Regions from separate parts of the Homo sapiens genome. Here region 1 is linked to region 2. Evidence: promoter capture Hi-C in 16 types of primary human blood cells and fetal thymus (Javierre and others, 2016). All regions are on one chromosome and are shown on one strand. The core of a region is centred on a gene start or on the middle of the fragment in contact, and the rest is flanking DNA. Distances in the headings are between cores, read along the strand shown. Region 1 has its middle 14 kb from the start of KRABD5. Region 2 holds the start of RUSF1 (RUS family member 1).

Region 1 (5,846 bases), core at 1,897-4,396, 190 kb before region 2:
TGCTCTGTTGCCTAGGCCGGAGTGTAGTGGTGTGATCTTGGCTCACTGAAACCTCCGCCTCCTGGGTTCAAGAGAGTCTCCTGTCTCAGCCTCCCAAGTAGGTGGGACAGGCATGTGCCACCACGCCCAGCTAATTTTTGTATTTTTAGTAGAGACGGGGCCATGTTGGCCAGGCTGGTCCTAAGCTCAGGTGATCCGCCTGCCTCAGCCTCCCAAAGTGCTGGGATCACAGGCATGAGCCACCACACCCAGCCAAAATCAAGCTTCTTAAGCCCGTGTTCTCAGGCACCAGCCTAAAGGCAACCCCAGCTCCTGCCGGCTCCTGCACTTAGGTCTACATTCCCCAAACCACAGAGGACTGAGAATACCTGAAACCTGCCCTCCCACCTCTCTGCTTTTCCATGCTGCCCCTGACATCTCAGTCTGTCGGGCAAACACTGACTCATCCTTCAAGGCCTAGGTGAAAGTGTCTACAGGTAGACTATTGCTGCCTACCTGCCACCCATCCTCCTTCCCAGAGATCAGTGAATGAAGGATGTGGAGCCCCAGAAGGAGGGAACTATGTCTTCTGATCTGTCCACAGCCTTGACCTCCAAAGTTTAGATGTGGATGGAGTAGAATAAAGGCAAACTTCTTTTTTTTTTTGCAATTTGGCCTTGGCCCTAATGGTCAGGCTGCATCTGCTTGAAATCTACAATAAAGAGCAAATAGTTGATAACGTTGTGAATTGCAGAGGGGAAGCTGGCAGTTGAGAATCAGGAGAAGGAAGTGAAAATTTAGAATTTTACTGAAAGCCTTAGAAGAATTAGGTTGGGGGAACAGGGTGGTGGATTTGAGACCCTCCTTGCCATAGATTTGGAAAATGCAGGGAAAATCAGTCCCCCTGTGGGGTGTTAAAATAATTAAATGGGAGGCAATTTGACTGAAGTGGCTGTAGTGCCCTGGGTTTCTACCTAAGAAAACCAAAACGTAACTCATGCATTTCTTAGAAATAACTTAAAGGAAAAGAAAACACTCTTAACCAACCACAAACCACCAATTAACCTTTGATTACATAATCAGGGAATTTCCGCCTGGACAGTTCAAATAAGGGGACTACGTAATTGTAGCCAATCAATTACTGAATTGGCTTTGCTTCCTCATGCATCTTATTAAACCCTTTCCTTCAAGCCCCTCCGGTGGACCCCAAACCACAATCCATGGTTGTGGCTTCCTGATTCACGGGTCGTTATTTGCTCAGATAAAATCTTTAACGTTTTAACCAAACCTCAGTTTAATTTTTAACAAAAGAAAGAAAGGACTACGGACCCCACGGACCACAGCTCCTCCCACGCCCGAACCCCGAGCCGGGGTTCTCCCCTACGGCCCCTCCCGTCATCACCGCACAACGCGGGGAGACACGGGGCTGCGGGCGCGAAACTGCCCAGAGAGGGCTCAAGGCAGGACCAAGGTCGTCGCGCAGGGACGGGACGAGGCGCCCGGGGTCCCAGCTGCCGGCCGAGCCGCACCGTGTGACCGAGGAGACTCCGGGCCCCGACCCCGGAGCCGCCAGGGGCAGGCCCGGTTCCCAGCCGACCCCTGCCGCGTCTCGGGAAGCTCAGCCCCGCAGACTCACCATCTCGCGGCTTCAGGAGCGTCCCGGTATCCTCTCTAGGGACCGTCCAGTACCTGCAGGTCACAGGGCAAAGGAGGCTGCGGAATGAAGGAGAAAGAGCAGGGTACACAGATCAAGCAGGGAAGCGCACCTGGGAGAGGAAAAGGCCAGCCCAGAACACAGGAAGTGCGCCCCCTTTTTCGGCTGCGCGCCTGATTGGACAGGCTCGACAACGGCGCCGCTGAATGGATAGGGCTCCAGGTCCCGCCCCCTTACCCCCGAGTGACAGGAGATGCGATCACAGGTGTGGCTGAATGAGGCCTGAATGAATGATTGTCTGCAGCCCTTTTCAGGCAGGGCTGACTCCCTGTGCTGGGACCTGGGGCTGCTCCGGACATTGGTATTTAACTTTGCTCATAAGATTATATCAATTTATGAGTAATATAGGTAATATGTAAAATTGAAAATTATATAATAACGATTCTTTTAAAATTTCAGATTTCATAACCTTCATGGCCTCTGGTCCCTTGTGGAGGCAGCATGAGATTTGAAAATGGAGGGAGTCCTCTAAGTCAGAAATGTCCAATAGGAATAAAATTGAGCCGCATGTGTCATTTACAGTAGCCTAGTGGCATCATGAAAGGAAAACAGGTAAAATTGATGGTAATACCTTAACCCGATATATCCAAAATATTATCACTCAAATATGTGAGCAATATGAAATTATTAATGAAGACCACCAGAGAATGCTTCTTAAGTTTGGGGTACTAAATCTTGTAAAGTCACTCTGTATTTAAACTTCTAGCACATCTCAGTTCCAACCAGCTCTATCCAAAGAGCTCAGCAGCCCCACGTGGGCAGTGGCTTCCGCATTGAAGAGCAGATCTGAGGGCACTTGCGCGTCTAACCTCAGGGAAATCGAGGGCCTGGACCCCCTTTCCTGCCAGACGAGAGCGAACACCCTCATCCTGCCCATCTCTTTCCTCATGCCCAAGGGTGGGAGAGGCAGTGCCCAGTGAGAGAGCCAGGGCTGCAGTCAGGAGGTGTCCACAGGTCGACCACTGCTGCCCACCTGCTTCTGGGCAGGGCTCCCTCAGCCTTCCAAAGGTCAGACAGTGAATGAAGAGTGTCAGGCTTCAGGAGGAAACCCCTGACTTCAGATCTGTCTACAGCCTTGACCTCCAAAGTTTGGATGTGGAGGGAATAAAAGCAAATTTTTTTTATTTTGCAATTTGCCCTTGGCCCTGATGGTTAGGCTATGGCGGGCTGTTTCCTCCTATGGTGTGGGGACTGTGTGAGTTTAAGCACCAAGCATGTCAACATGCATTTCTGTATAATTTATCCCTATCCAACAAGAGGCCCCACTTTAAATAAAGGGAAAAGCAAATCAATACCTTATACAGTGCCTTCTGTTTGCCAGGTAACAACAAGTAGTGACCAACCTGTCATTTGAATCCTGGCAACCTGACTGCAGGTGTATGTATCAGTTAGCTATTGCTGCATTAAAAACCACCCTAAACCTTATTAGCTCATGATTGGGATGGTCAGTCATTTAGGCTGGACTCAACTGGGCCATTCTTCTGGTCTCAGCTGGGCTCCTTCAGGCGTGTGTGGTCAGCTGCTGGTTGACTAAGTGGCTCTGCTTCTGGGTGTCAGCTGGGGCACCTTGGTTTTCCTCCCCAGTGGGATCTCATCCTCCAGCAGGCTAACATGTGCTTGTTCTCATGGAGATGGCAGGGTTCTAAAAGAAAAAGCAGAAGCATTCAAGGCCTTATGTCCCTAGACCCCAAACTGTCACATTGCCATATTGATAGCTTTCTATTGCCCAGAGCAAATAAGGCCAGCCCAGATCCAAGCGTCAGGAAACAGATTCTGCCTCTATGTTGGAGCAGCTGTAAAAGCATATTCCAAAGGGCATGGACACCAGAGCCATTTTGCAGTCAGTATCATTCTGCCTTTTCTTACAGCAAGGTTTATATAACTGTTCCAAGTCAAGGAACATGTCCAAAGCACTACAGCTACTAAGTGGCTGGACTGGGACTCTGGATCAACTTTGCCTGACTCCAAAGCCCATGTACCTCCATAGACCTCACAACTCAAGCAGCTTCCCTAGGCCTTTGAGATCCTGAAGACTGACTCTTCTGCAATAGAATAAAGGTTCTTTTGAGATGCTCATCCTTCTAGTAGGATTATTCACAATTAGGAGTAATCCCCACCAGAGAATGCTTCTGAAATGTCTTGCAAACATTTAGATTAACTTGGGAAAATGGCTGATGGCTGAGTTTAAAAAATCAAGGCATAACTTTTTCATTTCTTACCATAGGAGAGATCTGAAAACACATATAATGCACGAACATGTGTGCAAATTATTTTCATCCCCGTGCGTTATTTGTAGTCTGATTATGATTTTTAACACAGACTAAATTAAACTACTGTTCCCGAAACAACGTTTTACTCTGAAAGCAAGAGACACAAAGGTAGATCTGCCGAGAAGACATTTCCTCCTGCCTCAATTTAGCCAAACAGCTGAGTACGTCTTAAAGTCAGCCTTCGATTTCTAACAAGTCAAGCTGTTTGCCAAGACCTCAATCAGATCATAAGAGTGCTTCAGCTACTTCATCATCCTAGAAGGTTGACCAGACAGATCGAAGCTCTGGGGGTGGAGTGGTGAGAGCACCCGCACTAGCAGGTGGGCAGCCATAGGTCCATAGATGAGAGTCATTCATTAGGTGGGGTGTTTTGGGGTCCTGACATTTATGACACAATTAATGTCTATATTACTAAATGTAAATTTTAAAACATTACAAATAATAAATCTACATATAAACTGAATATGTCAGCAATTACAATTATTGTTATTCATCATTATTCTAAGTGTGATCATTATTATTACCACAATTAGAAATAGTGGTTGTGATTGTTGTTGCTGCTGCTGCTGCTGTTGCTGCAGGGATGGTGATAAAAACACCGGGTAAGGCTCTGCTGCCTCCTCCACTTGTGGCATCGGGAGCTGCTGGCTCACTAGTTTGGTGCACACTCTGGACCTCTTTGGTGAAGCTGCAGCTGAAGAGCCTTCAGGCTCTGCTATGGCAGAGAAAGAGCCTGAGTCAAGGCCGAGAGCAGAATCCTGTGAATTTGAAAGTGGCAGGTAGGATGGTCCCGGGGTGCAGTTGATGGTGAAGAGGCACACACCACTTAGTGAATGAGTGGAAGCCTTTGGTGAAAGGCAGAGTTTGTCCATGACACAGATCAGATTCCACTTTGACTGGGGCCAATCAGTGAAACAGACACATCTGCAGAACTGGAAACAGAGGACAAAGATTCAGTTGATGTGTTCCAGAAGCAGACTGGAGTGTCTACTGAGAACACACTCACGGCTTTACCCCAGAACTCTGTTCCTACAGACATTCTCATGTGGAAAACTGCAATATGGTTCCACCACGTCTGATTGGTCCAGTATCCCCTTCTCTATTCTTCACTTTCTCCTTCCTTATTCCTTTACTGTACATAAATTATCAAGTGTAGCTGCACAAGCATATTGATGATTTTGTTTGCTTGCTTGTTTGATTGTACCGAATGGCCACCAGTTTGTGTTGAGTGATTGCCAATGGACACAAGGCGAGGGAAAACACTGATTCTGGGAAAAGACTCCCTTTCTCCACCAGGGGATGCTCACTTACCTCTTATCTCTATGTTCCAGGACTTTAACAACATAACAAACATAATGATCCTTAACGCTTGTTGCAGGGAGAAGAAAAAACCATAATAATCTTTGCATACATTGTTCGATTGGAGAATTTTGTTTTTGAAATATTCCATTGTGAAACTAAGGACAATTTCTTAACTTTCTTAAATGTAGCTGTTACACATAGGGCAAATCTGTCCTCACACAGGACTAAGTGACACTTACAACAACAGAATGAATCCCAGATATGTTCCTCTTCAAATCTGGCCTCTGGTTGTTTAAACATACATCTCGTGTAAAATATATATATTTAAAAATGTGTATAAATAGAAACATGAAGTTCCTCTAGCCACCAAGTAGGTTGGTTGGACTCAAAATGAGGTAGAAGGAGTTTCCATCTGCAGTACATTTGAAGTCCTCCTAGGAACCAGGGAACTGTCCACACCCTCTGAAGCTAGTCCCCTCCTCTTCTGCCTGGGGCAGGGTGCCCTGTGAGATTCCCATGTCCTGGCCCAGGAGGTATATGGAGGGTGGGAGGTTGTCGGTCTCACACCCAGCAGACATCCC
Region 2 (5,951 bases), core at 2,578-5,077:
AGCCAAGGGCCTCACATTTGAACACTTGACATTATCTCTGAATAAGAACCAACACTTAAACAGTATGTACTATGTGCTAAATACTTTAAGAGTTTTGCACATACGACATGACTTTTTTGTTTTTTGTTTTTTTTTTAGACAGAGTCTTGCTCTGTCGCCCAGGCTGGAGTGCAGTGGCGCAATCTCGGCTCACTGCAACCCCCACCTCCCAGGTTCAAGCAATTCTCCTGCCTCAGCCTCCCAAGTAGCTGGGACTATAGGCACATATCACCACACCTGGCTCATTTTTGTATTTTTAGTAGACATGGGGTTTCACCATGTTGGCCAGGATGGTCTTGATCTCTTGACCTCGTGATCCGTCCGCCTCGGCCTCCCAAAGTGCTGGGATTACAGGCGTGAGCCACCGCGCCCGGCCAAGACATGACTCTTAATTCTCGTTCCAACTCTGTGTGGTAGGTACTAGTATTATTTCCATTTTACCATTACCATTTCGTCTTTCAGAAGAAGAAACTGAAAGACAGAGAGATATGTAACTTGCCCAAGATCTCACAGCTTCCTGGACAGCTTCCTGGACAGAACCTACATTCACAGTAAGGCCCTCTGATGCCCCAGAGTCCTATCCACTCACAGAAGCTAACCTTTCAAATATAACACAATGCTTGATCTTTCACTGTGCCAGGAAACTCAAAATTATTTTGAAAGGATAATTTATTGACAGTGTTATAAGCTAAATGGAAAATAAGAATTAAACATTAAATTTCTGCCAGGCACAGTTCATGCCTATAAGCCCAGCACTTTGGGAAGCTGAGGTGGGCAGATCACTTGAGCCCAGGAGTTTGAGACCAGCCTAGGCAGCATGGCAAAACCCTGTCTCTACAAAAATAAAATACAAAAATTAGCTAGCCATGGTGGCACACGCCTGTGGTCTCAGCTACTCGGGAGGCTGAGGCAGATCACTTGAACCCTGGAAGTTGAGGCTGTAGTGAGACTGTAGTGTGATCACACCACTGCACTCTCTGGGTGACAGAGAACCTGTCTTTTAAAAAAAATTAAATTTATTCAACTACTTCTCTAAAGTGCCACTCCAACATATACCAATATATTCTTTAATCTCAAGAGCTTTGGGAGGCCGAGGTGGGAGGATCACTTGAGGCCAGGAGTTGGAGACCAGCCTGGGCAACATAGTGAGATCCCATCTCTACAGAAAATTTTAAAAGTTGGCCAGGCATGGTGGTGCATGCCTGTAGTCCCAGCTACTTGGGAGGCTGAGGCAAGAGGATCACTTGAGCCCAGGAGTTTGAGGCTGCAGTGAGCTATGATTGCACCACTGCACTCCAGCCTGGGTGACAGAGCAAGACCCTGTCTCATCGATCGATTGATTGATTGACTGATAGAATAAAAAATAAATCTTAACCCTAAGGATGAAGAAGAGCTTGGCCTACAATGTCCTGCAGTTTGGCCCCTAACTCCCTAGCAGCCCTTTCCCCATGCCCCTCGTGCTCTAGACTTCTGCTGCACCGGCCTTTGTTGGATGTTAGGTACCATGCTCCCTCCCCACTCAGGACATGCTGCTCCTTCTTTCCAGAAAATTATTTTCCCATCATAATCAAGTTAACTCTTACTCTAGATCTCAGCTAAATACACACTTCCTCAAAAAAAAAGTTTCCCAGCTGGCCTCAACGGCTCATGCCTATAATCCTAGCATTTTGGAAGACCGAGGCGGGAGGCCTGGGCAACACAGAGAGACCCCAACTTAAATTTTTGTTAAAAAATTTCCCTTGGCCGGGCACAGTGGCTCATGCCTGTAATCCCAGCACTTTGGGAGGCGAGGCAAGCAGATGAGTTGAGGCCAGGAGTTCAAGACCAGCCTGGCCAACATGGCAAAACCCCGTCTCTACTAAAAATACAAAAATTAGCTGGGTGTGGTGGTGAATGCTTGTAACCCCAGCTACTCCGGAGGGTGAGGCAGGTGAATCACTTGAACCCAGGAGGTGGAGGTTGCAGTAAGCCAAGACTGTGCCACTGCACTCCAGCCTGGGTGACAGAGGGAGACTCCATCTCAAAAAAAAAAGTTTCCCTTGATTCCACTGATTAGCTCAATTCTCCTTCTAAAAGTCCTCATATTAAATAACATGTACCCCTCTACAGCAATTGAAATAGTTCCAACTTTGCATTTATTTGTATGATTTGATCAATATCCTTCCCTAATATAAGTTCCAAAAGACCAAGACCCTTGTTTGTTTTTGCTCACTATCCCAATGAGCACATAGGTAGCAACAGGTATTTGTAGAAGAAACTGGCAAACCATTGGTAAAAAAGAGATAACAAACACGGAGTTAATGACAACTGCACGGTTCAAGCGATTTTCTTGCCTCCGCCTCCCGGATAGCTGGGATTATGGCCACACCACCCCCACGCCCAGCTAATTTTTGTATTTTTAGTAGAGATGGGGTTTCAACATGTTGGCCAGGCTGGTCTTAAACTCCTGACCTCAAGTGATCCACCTGGCTCGACTTCCCAAAGTGCTGGAATTACAGGCGTGAGCCACCACGCCCAGCCCAAGGATCACTTTTGAGGCCAGGAGTTTGAGAGCAGCCTGGGCAACATAGGGAGGCCCTGCCTCTATTTAAATAAATATGTTTTTAAAGTACTTAGTCTTCAAACCTTGTTTTATTTTTGTCCTCTATTCAAACCAGTACCTGAATTTAGACAACATTACAGAAATGTTGTGATTAGGCCATTTGTATTTTGAAACCCGAAATTTAAAGAAAAAAAAAAAGAAAAGAAAAGAAGTGTTCAAGTTTATCTCAGTCAGAGAGAGACTGTGTTTGTGTGAGATAAGGCGAAGTGGGGTAGAAGGGCCTTCCAGGATTAAGTCCACGAGGAAGGTGACGGTTTGGGAGAATCTGAAGTTTCAAATAAGGAGTTGTCGGTTGGGATCAAACTGTGGGGATCCAAGAATGCCAGGCTAAGAAACCAGGATATTTTATTTTCTGATAAAAAGAGGATGCTTTTTTGGCAAATTTCTGCTTCGGAGTGAAGATGCTGCACTAGATGGGAAGGAGAAGAGGAGAAATGGAAAGAAGAAAAGGTGAGTTCCAAGGACAGAAACACTCCCTCTTTGGACTCCCCCCAATTTCATGGACTCTCTCCCGCAAAAAAACACACAAGAACTTCCTGCCTTGTTTCCTTGTTTTGTGACATCATTGCAATCTCTTGATTTTTTTCATCCCTCGGATTCCTTAGCATCCTTCAAAAGTAATGTTCCTGCAGTCTCGCAGAAGGCCGAAGGATGGAGAATTTCTAGTCCAGGCCAGGGACACTCAGAAGAGAGAAAAAAAAAAGAACAAAAAAAGACCCAAGCAGCTTCACAGGGCCTCATCTGGTCCAATTTCTTCTCATGATGCATTCATTCACTCATAAATATCTTTTGAGCACCTACTATGTGTTGGGTAGATCTAGGGATAAAATCAGGGTTAAAAATACAGTCGCTGGTCTCACAGCAAAAAAGGCACCTGAGGCCCAGAGAGGGCCACTGACTTGCCAAAAGTCACAAGCTAAAACTTCTGTGGCCGAACCGCGTCTCGAACACAACTGGCGGAGGCCCACGGCGCCTGCAGCCCAGCTGCAGAATGCTACAAAGCAACGGGGGCCGGTGCCGGGGCGTCCGAAGCAGCGCCGAGGCCGGAGAGAGCGACAGTCAGTTTCCTAACTGCGCGGCGGACGCCGAGGCCGGCGCCTGTTCTTGAAAGATGTCCCTCTGCAGCCGCGGTAGCCCAGCCGGAAGTGCCGCCTGCCACGTCCACCGTGCGGCAGGGGCGGGGCTGGGATCCAAAAGCTCGGCATGGCTGACGACGCGGGTTTGGAGACCCCGCTGTGTTCCGAGCAGTTCGGCTCCGGGGAGGCACGGGGCTGCCGCGCCGCCGCGGACGGGAGCCTGCAGTGGGAGGTCGGGGGCTGGCGCTGGTGGGGGCTCTCCAGGGCCTTCACGGTCAAACCTGAAGGACGAGATGCGGGCGAAGTGGGGGCTTCCGGGGCCCCCTCACCGCCCCTCTCCGGGCTCCAGGCCGTGTTCCTGCCTCAGGGCTTCCCTGATAGCGTCAGCCCGGACTACTTGCCCTACCAGCTGTGGGATTCCGTGCAGGTCAGCTCGGTCGTCTGGGGCAGAGGACAGTGCAGGCCACTCCTCCCTCCCCAATAATGGACGGGTGACTGAGACTCGGAGCCCGGGGGGCGGGGGGTCTGACATGCCTCATACACCAAGAACAAGAACAGATGAAGGCACTTAGACCGCCACGCTCCTACGCCCGCTTCTCACCCTACTTGTTTTCTTCTCCAGGCGTTTGCTTCCAGCCTCTCCGGCTCCCTAGCCACCCAGGCAGTCTTGCTGGGCATAGGGGTGGGGAACGCAAAAGCCACTGTTTCAGCTGCCACGGCCACCTGGCTCGTGAAAGGTGAGCTGCACCCCTGGAGCCTCACGTATTGCTGCTTTCAGCCCTGCTTTCGCTGGGCTCTTATGTGTATATATGTATGGACTCGTGCCCCATTAGGTAGAATTCAGGCAGGTCTCCCCAGTGATTAGAGTGGTGCTTTGTAACCCAGTCTTACTTCCCACATCTGGAAGACCCTCATCCCACTCACCAGCCTAGCAGCCGCACTCCATTCCCCACACAGACTTCTGAGTCTCAATCATCTGGATCCCAAATCCCGTCCCCTCCCCTTTATCCCTATTCTCTTTGTGGAAGATTGCATAAGAATGCAATTGATGGAATAAAACTGCCAGCTGCCCAGGATAGGGGAAATTGGTGAGCTCCAGAAAAAAAAGATATAGTTGGTCCTGAGAAGGAGAGAGGAGAGCCTGGAAAGAATGGAAGGTATTGTGTATGCTCTGGGATACCAGATGATGCTGTAAATAATAGAGTGACTATCTGCTGAATATGTACAGCTTTTAAAAAATTGTTTAAGGAAAAAAAATACAGTTTGGTACCATGCCACCCAGAGAGGGAAATAGAACAGAAAAGGGAAATTGTTACATGTTCTACACGAGGAGGCCCCATGGCTTTTGCCACTGTCCTTTGTCTTTCACTACTGCTCGCAGGGGATATTTATTAGGCTGGTGCAAAAGTAATTGCGGGGTTTCTTTGTCGTTATTGCCATTAAAGGTAATGGAAAACCCGCAATTACATTTGAGCCAACCTAATAGATCTAAGGAAAAGCGCTTTCCATTCGTAGCATCAGTCTGGCCACATCCCTTGTGAGCCTCTCTGGATTTTTTTGAGAAAACAGGAGCTTCCTGTTTACACCTTTACCATTAAGACTGAGAAAACTGGGCCGGGCACGGTGGCTCACGCCTTTAATCCTCGTACTTTGGGAGGCTGAGGCATCCTGGGCAACATAGGGAGACCCCCATCTCTATTTTTTTTTTTCCAGACTCGTAGTCTCACTGTCACCCAGGCTGGGATGCAGGAGTGCAGTGGCACAATCTCAGCTCACTGCAGCCTCCTCCTCCCGGGTTCAAGCGATTCTCCTGCCTCAGCTTCCCAAGTAGCTGGGATTACAGGCATGTGCCACCCTGCCCCGCTAATTTTTTGTATTTTTAGTAGAGACAGAGTTTCACCATGTTGGCCAGGCTGGTCTCGAACTCCTGACTTCGGGTGATCCATTCGCCTCAGCTTCCCAAAGTGCTGGGATTATAGGCGTGAGCCACTGCGCCCGGCTTGTTGGCCGTATTTTTGGAATGCATTTGGAGCTTGGGTCAGTAGTTTTTGTTTTCATGTGATGTCACCAACATGTTGCCTATACAGATTGAATATCCCTTATCCAAAATGCTTGCAACCAGAAGTGTTTTGGATTTTGGAATTTTTTTTGGATTTTGGAATATCTTCATGTATATAATGAGATTTGTTGGGGATCAGACTCAAGTCTAAACATGAAATTCGTTTATGTTTCAT

What was found. Contacts are between HindIII fragments. The CHiCAGO score rates a contact against its expected background, and 5 or more counts as called.
Region 1: a contact is called between a fragment that was not itself captured here and the fragment with the promoter of RUSF1 in region 2, in 3 of 17 cell types (erythroblasts, endothelial precursors and activated CD4 T cells). The highest score is 6.6, in erythroblasts.

What each region holds. Positions count from the first base shown.
Region 1 is chr16:31,696,508-31,702,353 of GRCh38, reverse strand. It overlaps the pseudogene CLUHP3. Among named protein-coding and RNA genes, the nearest start is that of KRABD5, 14 kb to the left of the region's middle. RefSeq lists silencers at 1,388-1,537, 1,798-1,937. The HindIII fragment of the contact is 5,761 bases long and covers 266-5,846 here.
Region 2 is chr16:31,506,267-31,512,217 of GRCh38, reverse strand. It overlaps RUSF1 (RUS family member 1), which reads left to right and starts at 3,827. Exons shown (of 13, transcript NM_022744.4): 1 at 3,827-4,144; 2 at 4,340-4,454. The coding sequence starts at 3,845. It overlaps RUSF1-DT (RUSF1 divergent transcript), which reads right to left and starts at 3,754. Exons shown (of 2, transcript NR_186401.1): 1 at 3,182-3,754; 2 at 2,652-3,045. RefSeq lists enhancers at 3,277-3,846, 3,411-4,125, 4,126-4,841 and silencers at 3,947-3,996, 4,057-4,116. The HindIII fragment of the contact is 29,640 bases long and covers 1-5,951 here.